Regions from separate parts of the Homo sapiens genome. Here region 1 is linked to region 2. The links are contacts of gene promoters, found by promoter capture Hi-C in human tissues and cell types (Jung and others, 2019). All regions are on one chromosome and are shown on one strand. Each heading gives the region's core, a stretch centred on a gene start or on the middle of the fragment in contact. The rest is flanking DNA. Distances are from core to core; before and after follow the strand shown. Region 1 holds the start of NUP210L (nucleoporin 210 like). Region 2 holds the start of CRTC2 (CREB regulated transcription coactivator 2).

Region 1 (4,378 bases), core at 873-3,372, 200 kb before region 2:
GCCTGCCTTACCGAGAGCCAAACAGAGCCCAGGGAGACTCCGCTGTGGGAAACCTCATTGTTCTGTACAAAGTACTAGCTAAACCAGAAAGGTGATTCCAGGAGGAGTTAGCCAAACAACAACAAAAACAAAAAATGTGCTGTTCAAGTTTTCAGCTTTAAGATATCTTTGGATAATGTTATTTCTATTTTTTATTTTTTTCATTAGAAGTTACCAAATTAAGATGGTAAGACCTCTGAGACCAAAATTTTGTCCCATCTCTACCCCCTCACAACTGCTTACAGAATGGATCATGTCCCCCTTATGTTGAGGTGACCACTTAATTGCTTTCCTGCCTCCTTGAAAGAAAGAAAGAAAGAAGACTGTGTTTTTGCCACTGATTTAGCCATGTGAAACTCATCTCATTACCCTTTTCTGGGTTTGAAGCTGCTGTCTCTAGAAGTGCCATCTCAATTGTGCTTTGTATCAGTCAGTGCTGGAGAAATCTTGAATAGCTTATGTACAAAACTTTTTAAATTTTATATTATTTTGAAACTTTGCTTTGGGTTTGTGGCACCCTGGCCACCCCATCTGGCTGTGACAGCCTCTGCAGTCCGTGGGCTGGCAGTTTGTTGATCTTTTAAGTTTCCTTCCCTACCCAGTCCCCATTTTCTGGTAAGGTTTCTAGGAGGTCTGTTAGGTGTACATCCTGCAGCTTATTGGCTTAAAATGTACTCTCCTTTTATGTGGTCTCTTTGGGGCCGATTGGGAGAAAGAGAAATCAATAGTGCAACTGTTTTGATACTGAATATTGACAAGTGTCTTTTTGAAATAAAGAACCAGTCCCTCCAACCCTCAGACCTATTTGACTTTTATTTATTAAAACTAAATGTGCTTTCTCCACAGAAGCTATGAGGTTTGGGTTAAAAATAGCATCTTTGTGGGTGGTAGCAACAGGATTTATTCTTTATTATTATTATTTTTGAGATGAAGTTTCATTCTTGTTGCCTGGGCTGGAGCGTAATGGCTCGATCTCGGCTCACTGCAACCTCCGCCTCCTGGTTCAAGAGATTCTCCTGCCTCAGCCTCCCGAGTAGCTGGGATTACAGGCACCTGCCACCATGCCCGGGTAATTTTTTATATTTTAAGTAGAGACAGGGCTTCACCATGTTGGCCAGGCTGGTCTCGAACTCCTGACCTTCAGGTGATCCACCTGCCTCAGCTTCCCAAAATGCTGGGATTACGGGCGTGAGCCACCGCACCCAGCTGGAGCAACAGGATTTAATATAGAGCAAATGTTTAGTTTTATCATCTGTAAAATGGAGATAAGTATTGTCAGAGTAAACATGAAGATTAGAAAGAACACTTAATGTGCTGGGCCTTTTATAGGTTAACACTGACATCTCAGGCTGAACTATATACATTTTCCTTCACAACCATATCAATCCTTATAAACTATGGATTTATGCTCCTTAAAACAATATATAATGCTGATCACTACTATAAATGCGTGGTTTTAACCAACTGTACTGAAACAGCTTTGAGTTTATATTCTGTTTGGATATTTGGAGAAAACAACAAGTGCTCTCAAGAGTATTTGCTTAGAGGCCGGCTGTGTGAGTGGATAACTTTGAAAGCTGCTTTTGAGACGCCAGTGTCTGGCATTTCCTGCATTCTGGCCTGGAGGCCGGACGTGAATCTGACTTCTAGTAAAAATACACGGTTCCCTTGACAAAGTCGAGCTGTTTATCCCAGAGACTGCACAATTTTCCGTTGATAGGCATGGACCAATGCTAACTGGAAATCATTGCAAAAAGTTTTTTTGTCGGGCGGAGGGTGTGGTGTTAAGATAAACAGTGTGCAACAGAAGAAATTAAAACTGGAAGAAATTAAAGGGTTTTTTTTAGACTTTTCTGCTTGTTCCTTACTGTTAAAAAGGTCTGCCATCCAGTATTTAGGAAAGCCCTTTAAGAGAGTTTGAGGTGTTTTAGCTGGGTTTGTGCCAAAAGTTTCCATTATATTGGCTTGCTGAAGGACTGCATTTAAAAATGCCCACACATCCGAGCAAGAAGCAGGTCCCATCCCCCTCTGCTGACGTCACGCCTGTGGATTGGCTGATGGAGCTGTGAGCCGGCTGTAGTTGAGCGGGAACCCGAGACCTGGCAGTCGCCATGACTGGCTGTCCGGCGTCATCAAGACGCCGAGGCTTCGGGCTCTTTTTCTTCTTGCGTCTACACCGCCTCCTGTTGTTGTTTCTGGTTTTGCGTGGGACCCTGGCCAACAAACTTAACGTGCCACAGGTGTTGCTACCCTTCGGCCGAGAGCCAGGCCGGGTGCCTTTCCTGCTGGAGGCCCAGCGGGGCTGCTACACTTGGTGAGGGGTGGTGGGTGACAAGGATATGCACCCTCACTACCATCCAGTAAGGGTGAGGGGGGTTCCCTCTGTAAGATCCCACAGGAATACCGTGTGGGGCCGCGTGAAGGGGCCTAGCCGGTAGGGGAGGAGAGTGTGGTGTCAGTGAAGGTGGCGAGGAGCAGACCCTTGGGTGTGGCGTGTCCTACTCATGTGGTATATCCTCCAGCTGTGTGACAATCTTCCAGACGTGTGAGGAATTCTCGGGATGTGGGACTGGCCTCTTCTCTGTGTGTGTTGGGAAGGGGTGGTCACTATGAGCAGCCGTCAGGGTAAAGGGAAGCCCTGTGTTGGAGGCCACAGGTACTGATGACTTCCAATGTAAACAACTAGAGTAAGAGGAAGTTCCCCATATCTGAGGAAATTTCTGTAGGAACAGGAAAACTTGGGGTGCGAGGGTCCCCACTAACTATAGATGAGCTATTCAATGTGAGAAGGACTTAAAACACAACAGCCAAGTATTGGGGGTTAACTAAGCACTTTACATGTGTTAACTCATTCGCTTTTTGCAGTCTTATGAAGTAAGTACTATTACTCCCATTTCACAGACGAGGAAAGTGAGGCCCAGAGACTATGAAGTGTAAACTTCTGGGAATATGAGAAGATTTATCGTGGGTGGAGATGAGATCTGTCTGTATTATCAAAATTGCCCCATTTATAAAAGGGTACCCGCTTGAAGTGTGAGGACAGGGGGTACACACAACTCCGGGATAATGACTTCCTGACTGAAGATGAAGAGACATGATTTTCTGGTGTGAGAGGACCCAATGATGGGTTATGTGGTTGCCTAAGGTATGAGAGAACCTAACCGAAGTGAGCTTCAGGATGCCAGTGCATTCATCCTAGATGGAGTAGATACCCCTTTGCCATCTCCTAGGAGAAGCAATGAGGTTTGTTCCGAGTATAAATTCACCTCTCATTTTATGAGGAAGTATAAGGAAAGTGAGCTTGTAAGATGATCCAGTGTGACGTGTGTGTTTCCTGACCGTGAGGGTGATGCAAGGCATCTTTCCAGCATTGAAAGCCATTTCTTCTATCACTCCAAAAATATTAATGAGGCCAGGCATGGTGGCTCACGCCTGTAATCCCAGCACTTTGGGAGGCCAAGGCAGGAGGATTACTTGAGGCCAGGAGTTTGAGACCAGCCGGATCAACATAGTGAGACCCCGTCTCTATTTAAAATAAAAACATTCGGCCGGGCGCAGTGGCTCACGCCTGTAATCCCAGCACTTTGGGAGGCCGGGGCAGGCAGATCACTTGAAGTCAGGAGTTCAAGACCAGCCTGGCCAACATGATGAAAGCCCATCCCTACTAAAAATACAAAAATTAGTCGGGCATAGTGGCAGACACCTGTAATCTCAGCTACTCGAGAGGCTGAGGCAGGAGAATCGCTTGAACCCTGGAGGCGAATGTTGCAGTGAGCTGAGATCGCCCTGCTGCACTTCAGCTTGGGCAACAAAGTGACTCGGTCTCAAAAACATAATAATAAATAAGAATAAAAATATTTATGAATGTTTTTGGTATTTTGAGTTGGACTCACACCTCATAATTTAGGCACCTTTTCCATCCTAGATATCAGAAGCCTGGTTTCTAGGATTGAAGGAAACTTTCCTCAGAGTATGAGAAAGTCCCCTCTCATTACTAGAAACACATCAGTCGTATTTCTGCATACTGAGGGAAGAATATAAAAATCTTTTAAAAAAAATTGAGGGAGGGATATTTCTGGGACTTTGTTCAAGGGATCATTGGGAAAGTTCTCATCAATCTCTCAGTTTAATTATCGCATCCCTAAGCAATGTTCCTTCTTTAAAAAGTGTCATTTACATATACCTGGTAGTATGTAACATGGAAGAAGTGTGAGAATCTATGTTCCACTAAAAGTTAATTTTAACCCACCTATTTCACACTCTTAAGAATTTTGTTCTGGCAGGCATTCCACCCATCATGATGCAGTTACTGTTGAGCCTTTATATGAAAATGGCACCT
Region 2 (4,151 bases), core at 740-3,239:
ATTGGCATGATGGGCCAGGGGTCCCACAGGCGAGTGGAGCCCCAGCAACCCCCTCAGCCTTGCGTGCCTGTGTACTGGTGTTCTCCCTGGCCCTCCACTCCGTGTTCGAGGGGCTGGCGGTAGGGCTGCAGCGAGACCGGGCTCGGGCCATGGAGCTGTGCCTGGCTTTGCTGCTCCACAAGGGCATCCTGGCTGTCAGCCTGTCCCTGCGGCTGTTGCAGAGCCACCTTAGGGCACAGGTGGTGGCTGGCTGTGGGATCCTCTTCTCATGCATGACACCTCTAGGCATCGGGCTGGGTGCAGCTCTGGCAGAGTCGGCAGGACCTCTGCACCAGCTGGCCCAGTCTGTGCTAGAGGGCATGGCAGCTGGCACCTTTCTCTATATCACCTTTCTGGAAATCCTGCCCCAGGAGCTGGCCAGTTCTGAGCAAAGGATCCTCAAGGTCATTCTGCTCCTAGCAGGCTTTGCCCTGCTCACTGGCCTGCTCTTCATCCAAATCTAGGGGGCTTCAAGAGAGGGGCAGGGGAGATTGATGATCAGGTGCCCCTGTTCTCCCTTCCCTCCCCCAGTTGTGGGGAATAGGAAGGAAAGGGGAAGGGAAATACTGAGGACCAAAAAGTTCTCTGGGAGCTAAAGATAGAGCCTTTGGGGCTATCTGACTAATGAGAGGGAAGTGGGCAGACAAGAGGCTGGCCCCAGTCCCAAGGAACAAGAGATGGTCAAGTCGCTAGAGACATATCAGGGGACATTAGGATTGGGGAAGACACTTGACTGCTAGAATCAGAGGTTGGACACTATACATAAGGACAGGCTCACATGGGAGGCTGGAGGTGGGTACCCAGCTGCTGTGGAACGGGTATGGACAGGTCATAAACCTAGAGTCAGTGTCCTGTTGGTCCTAGCCCATTTCAGCACCCTGCCACTTGGAGTGGACCCCTCCTACTCTTCTTAGCGCCTACCCTCATACCTATCTCCCTCCTCCCATCTCCTAGGGGACTGGCGCCAAATGGTCTCTCCCTGCCAATTTTGGTATCTTCTCTGGCCTCTCCAGTCCTGCTTACTCCTCTATTTTTAAAGTGCCAAACAAATCCCCTTCCTCTTTCTCAAAGCACAGTAATGTGGCACTGAGCCCTACCCAGCACCTCAGTGAAGGGGGCCTGCTTGCTCTTTATTTTGGTCCCGGATCCTGGGGTGGGGCAGAAATATTTTCTGGGCTGGGGTAGGAGGAAGGTTGTTGCAGCCATCTACTGCTGCTGTACCCTAGGAATATGGGGACATGGACATGGTGTCCCATGCCCAGATGATAAACACTGAGCTGCCAAAACATTTTTTTAAATACACCCGAGGAGCCCAAGGGGGAAGGGCAATGCCTACCCCCAGCGTTATTTTTGGGGAGGGAGGGCTGTGCATAGGGACATATTCTTTAGAATCTATTTTATTAACTGACCTGTTTTGGGACCTGTTACCCAAATAAAAGATGTTTCTAGACATCTGTACAGTATCTGATTCGTTTGTTTTGGGAAAGGGGTGGGCATGTGGCCAGCCTGAGAGGGCCTGAGTCCCAGATGTTTACAGCTGTTTTAAGATTCTTGGTCTCACTGTTTTCACTCAGGACCCGATAGTCCCCTTCCCTGAAGATGACCTAATTTTTCCTCCTTTGTGTCTTGGTACTTCTTTCCCGGTCTCCACCCCTCGGCTTCCCTTCTCTTCCCTCCCCTCCCTCTTCCTTTCTTCTCTCTTCAATCCCTCTCTCCTTTCCGTTCGTAGTCTCAGGGCTAATTTAGAACTACTCTTCCCAGCTTGCACCTCTCAGGGAGTAGCCGAGAGGGTGGAGCCAAGTCCCCAGTTTCCGGAGTCAGCAGGGCTGCTGGGAAGTGGAGTCCGTTTCCTCCTAGTGCTGCGTGACTGGGGATGTGAAGGAGTCTCGTAAACAAACTACAATTCCCGGCGGCCCCCGCGCGCAACAGGTCAGGGCTAGGCTGGGGCCGGGTTCGCGGTGCTCGCTGAGGCGGCGGTGGCTACGGCTGGAGGAGCCGGGCCGAGGCCGCGGCGGAGGCCGCGGCTGGTACTGGGAGGGTGGCAGGGAGGGACGGGGAAGGAAGATGGCGACGTCGGGGGCGAACGGGCCTGGTTCGGCCACGGCCTCGGCTTCCAATCCGCGCAAATTTAGTGAGAAGATTGCGCTGCAGAAGCAGCGTCAGGCCGAGGAGACGGCGGCCTTCGAGGAGGTGATGATGGACATCGGCTCCACCCGGGTGAGGGGCCGCGCCGGGGAGCCGGAGCAGAGCTGAGCAGTTACGGAGCGGAGACCGGAGAGGCGGGGCGGGGGCGGGCGCCGCAGCGAAGGAGGCGGAACAGAGCAGGGGACGCGGGCGCCGCCGTTTGGGAGGCGCAGGTTGAGGGCCGAGGGGCAGGAAGAAGGATTTTGCCGGGGGAGACCGAAACACCGGAGAGGTTCGGGGTGTAGAGGCGACTGGGGGCCGAGTACGTGAGGTGGGAGTGGGCGGAGAGGGGAGATGAAGTCCGGCGGAGGTAGGAGGTGAGTGGTCCTTGTGCATCCCTGACGGAGTCCCCTCGAGGACGCTACTGAAGCATGCCTGGTATTGGGGTATGGCCTGGGAGGAGGGCTGCTTGTCTGTAACCTGGCTCCTCTGAGTTTGTGATCTCCTCCAAACTGGTCCCTCTGCCTTCTGCGCTTTGGTGCCCCCGGGAAAGGGCCCCTTGAGTGGTTTGAACGAGCGGTGCTGTGTATAGTGGGGCAGGAAGTCCCCTCCTGCGTCCCGTCCTTTTGCTTCCTTTTTCAAATACTTCTTGTGGTTTCCTGACGTGAATGAAGGTGAGGTCCATTGCTTGGTGTTTTGTCCTGGCCTCCTTGGAGGAGAGGTAGGGTTTTGAATCCGACAACTGGGTAACCGTCCGACCATAAGTTGTGTGGAACTCTATGGTTTGCTGAGCTTTCTAGGGAGTTGGCTGCTTTGTGGGTTAGTGTGTAGGGTGCCTTGGAGGGTCTTCTATGTGTTGAGAATATTCATTCCTAGGAGTTCTTGAAAGAACTTTCAGGCCTCTGCCAGGCTGCCTCTGAAGCCCCCCTGGCTTGGTTTCTTGCTTTCCAAGGCTGGAGGTCAGAGGGACCAAGGGGTAGGAGTCCGCCTAGGTGGTATGCAGTCTTAATTTAGGGACACATTCTTCTAAAACAACAGTAGGTAAGGATATTGCAATGATTCCTCATGGCAGAGAGCTAGAAGGAATTTAAGGATTGATGGTGGAACATTACTACAACATCTCTAGCCTTTTTCTGCTGGTCTGACTGTGGTTGCATTTATGACTGTGACTCTGGTTGTATTTTTGTGTGTATCCCCCTTGACTCTGTTACTTTTTTTTTTTTCTCGTCCTTTCCCCTTTGAGTCTCTAGGGACTATGTGCCCTAGTTTGTGGGAGTCAGAAGTTAGGTGGGGAGGCAAATCTGGGAGGGTGTCTGTGCACGCATGTGCACACTTAAATGCATGTGTGTGCATAACCCACTGTAACCATTGTGAGGATTATTATCTAACTGTAGACTGCTCCCCTTTAGGAGCTTTTTCATCATGTTGGGGACAGAGACAGGAAGATGGGAGGCTGATCTTGATAGCGTGAGGCCCTGCCCTCAGGACTGTGATTCTAGCAGAGGCATGGTGGGATCTTAGGGCTCGTATGTGCAAAGAAAGGCTGTGCGAAACTCAAAAGCTGGGGCTTCTCTTTACGGTGCCTCGATCTCTTAAAAGGCCCCTTCTACCCACCTTGCTCCTATTGGTTAATTTCTCAGCTACACAGAAAAGTCTAGTGGGCATACATGGCCAGGGGACCCAAAAGTCTAGAGCTAGGGACAAGAGATCTGGGACTCAGCCTGTTATCTGGCCAGGTGGGAGGGCTCATTTGAGACAGAGATGGCCATGGGAGGCTATACCACTGAGATACTGGGGTTGCCATATATGAGACCTCAAGTGGTCTTCAAGTGGTCCAGAGGTCAGCACAGTGCTCACTAGGCTGACCTCCTGGAACAGAATGTCAGTTCTGATGTTGGCTTCTGTACAAGAGTGTGACCCTGGAAGCTCTTAGAACTTGCCCCTCCTCAGCTGCCCTCCTCCCCATGGCCTTGCCCTGGGCCTGTTTA

The links. The method cuts DNA at HindIII sites, captures the fragments that hold promoters and counts their contacts. A contact is called where the count stands out against the background at its distance.
Region 1: a contact is called between the fragment with the promoter of NUP210L here and the fragment with the promoter of CRTC2 in region 2, in 1 of the 25 tissues and cell types used here (aorta).

What each region holds. Positions count from the first base shown.
Region 1 is chr1:154,152,817-154,157,194 of GRCh38, reverse strand. It overlaps NUP210L (nucleoporin 210 like), which reads left to right and starts at 2,122. Exons shown (of 40, transcript NM_207308.3): 1 at 2,122-2,353; 2 at 4,323-4,378. The coding sequence starts at 2,151. It also overlaps a transcript of TPM3 not described here. RefSeq lists a silencer at 1,004-1,181 and enhancers at 1,788-2,288, 2,289-2,789. The HindIII fragment of the contact is 16,458 bases long and covers 1-4,378 here.
Region 2 is chr1:153,956,450-153,960,600 of GRCh38, reverse strand. CRTC2 (CREB regulated transcription coactivator 2) reads left to right here and starts at 1,989. Exons shown (of 14, transcript NM_181715.3): 1 at 1,989-2,256. The coding sequence starts at 2,104. SLC39A1 (solute carrier family 39 member 1) reads left to right here. Exons shown (of 4, transcript NM_001271958.2): 4 at 1-1,491. The coding sequence ends at 503. RefSeq lists enhancers at 1,760-1,959, 2,520-2,569, 2,580-2,799, 2,860-2,909 and a silencer at 2,210-2,359. The HindIII fragment of the contact is 13,419 bases long and covers 1-4,151 here.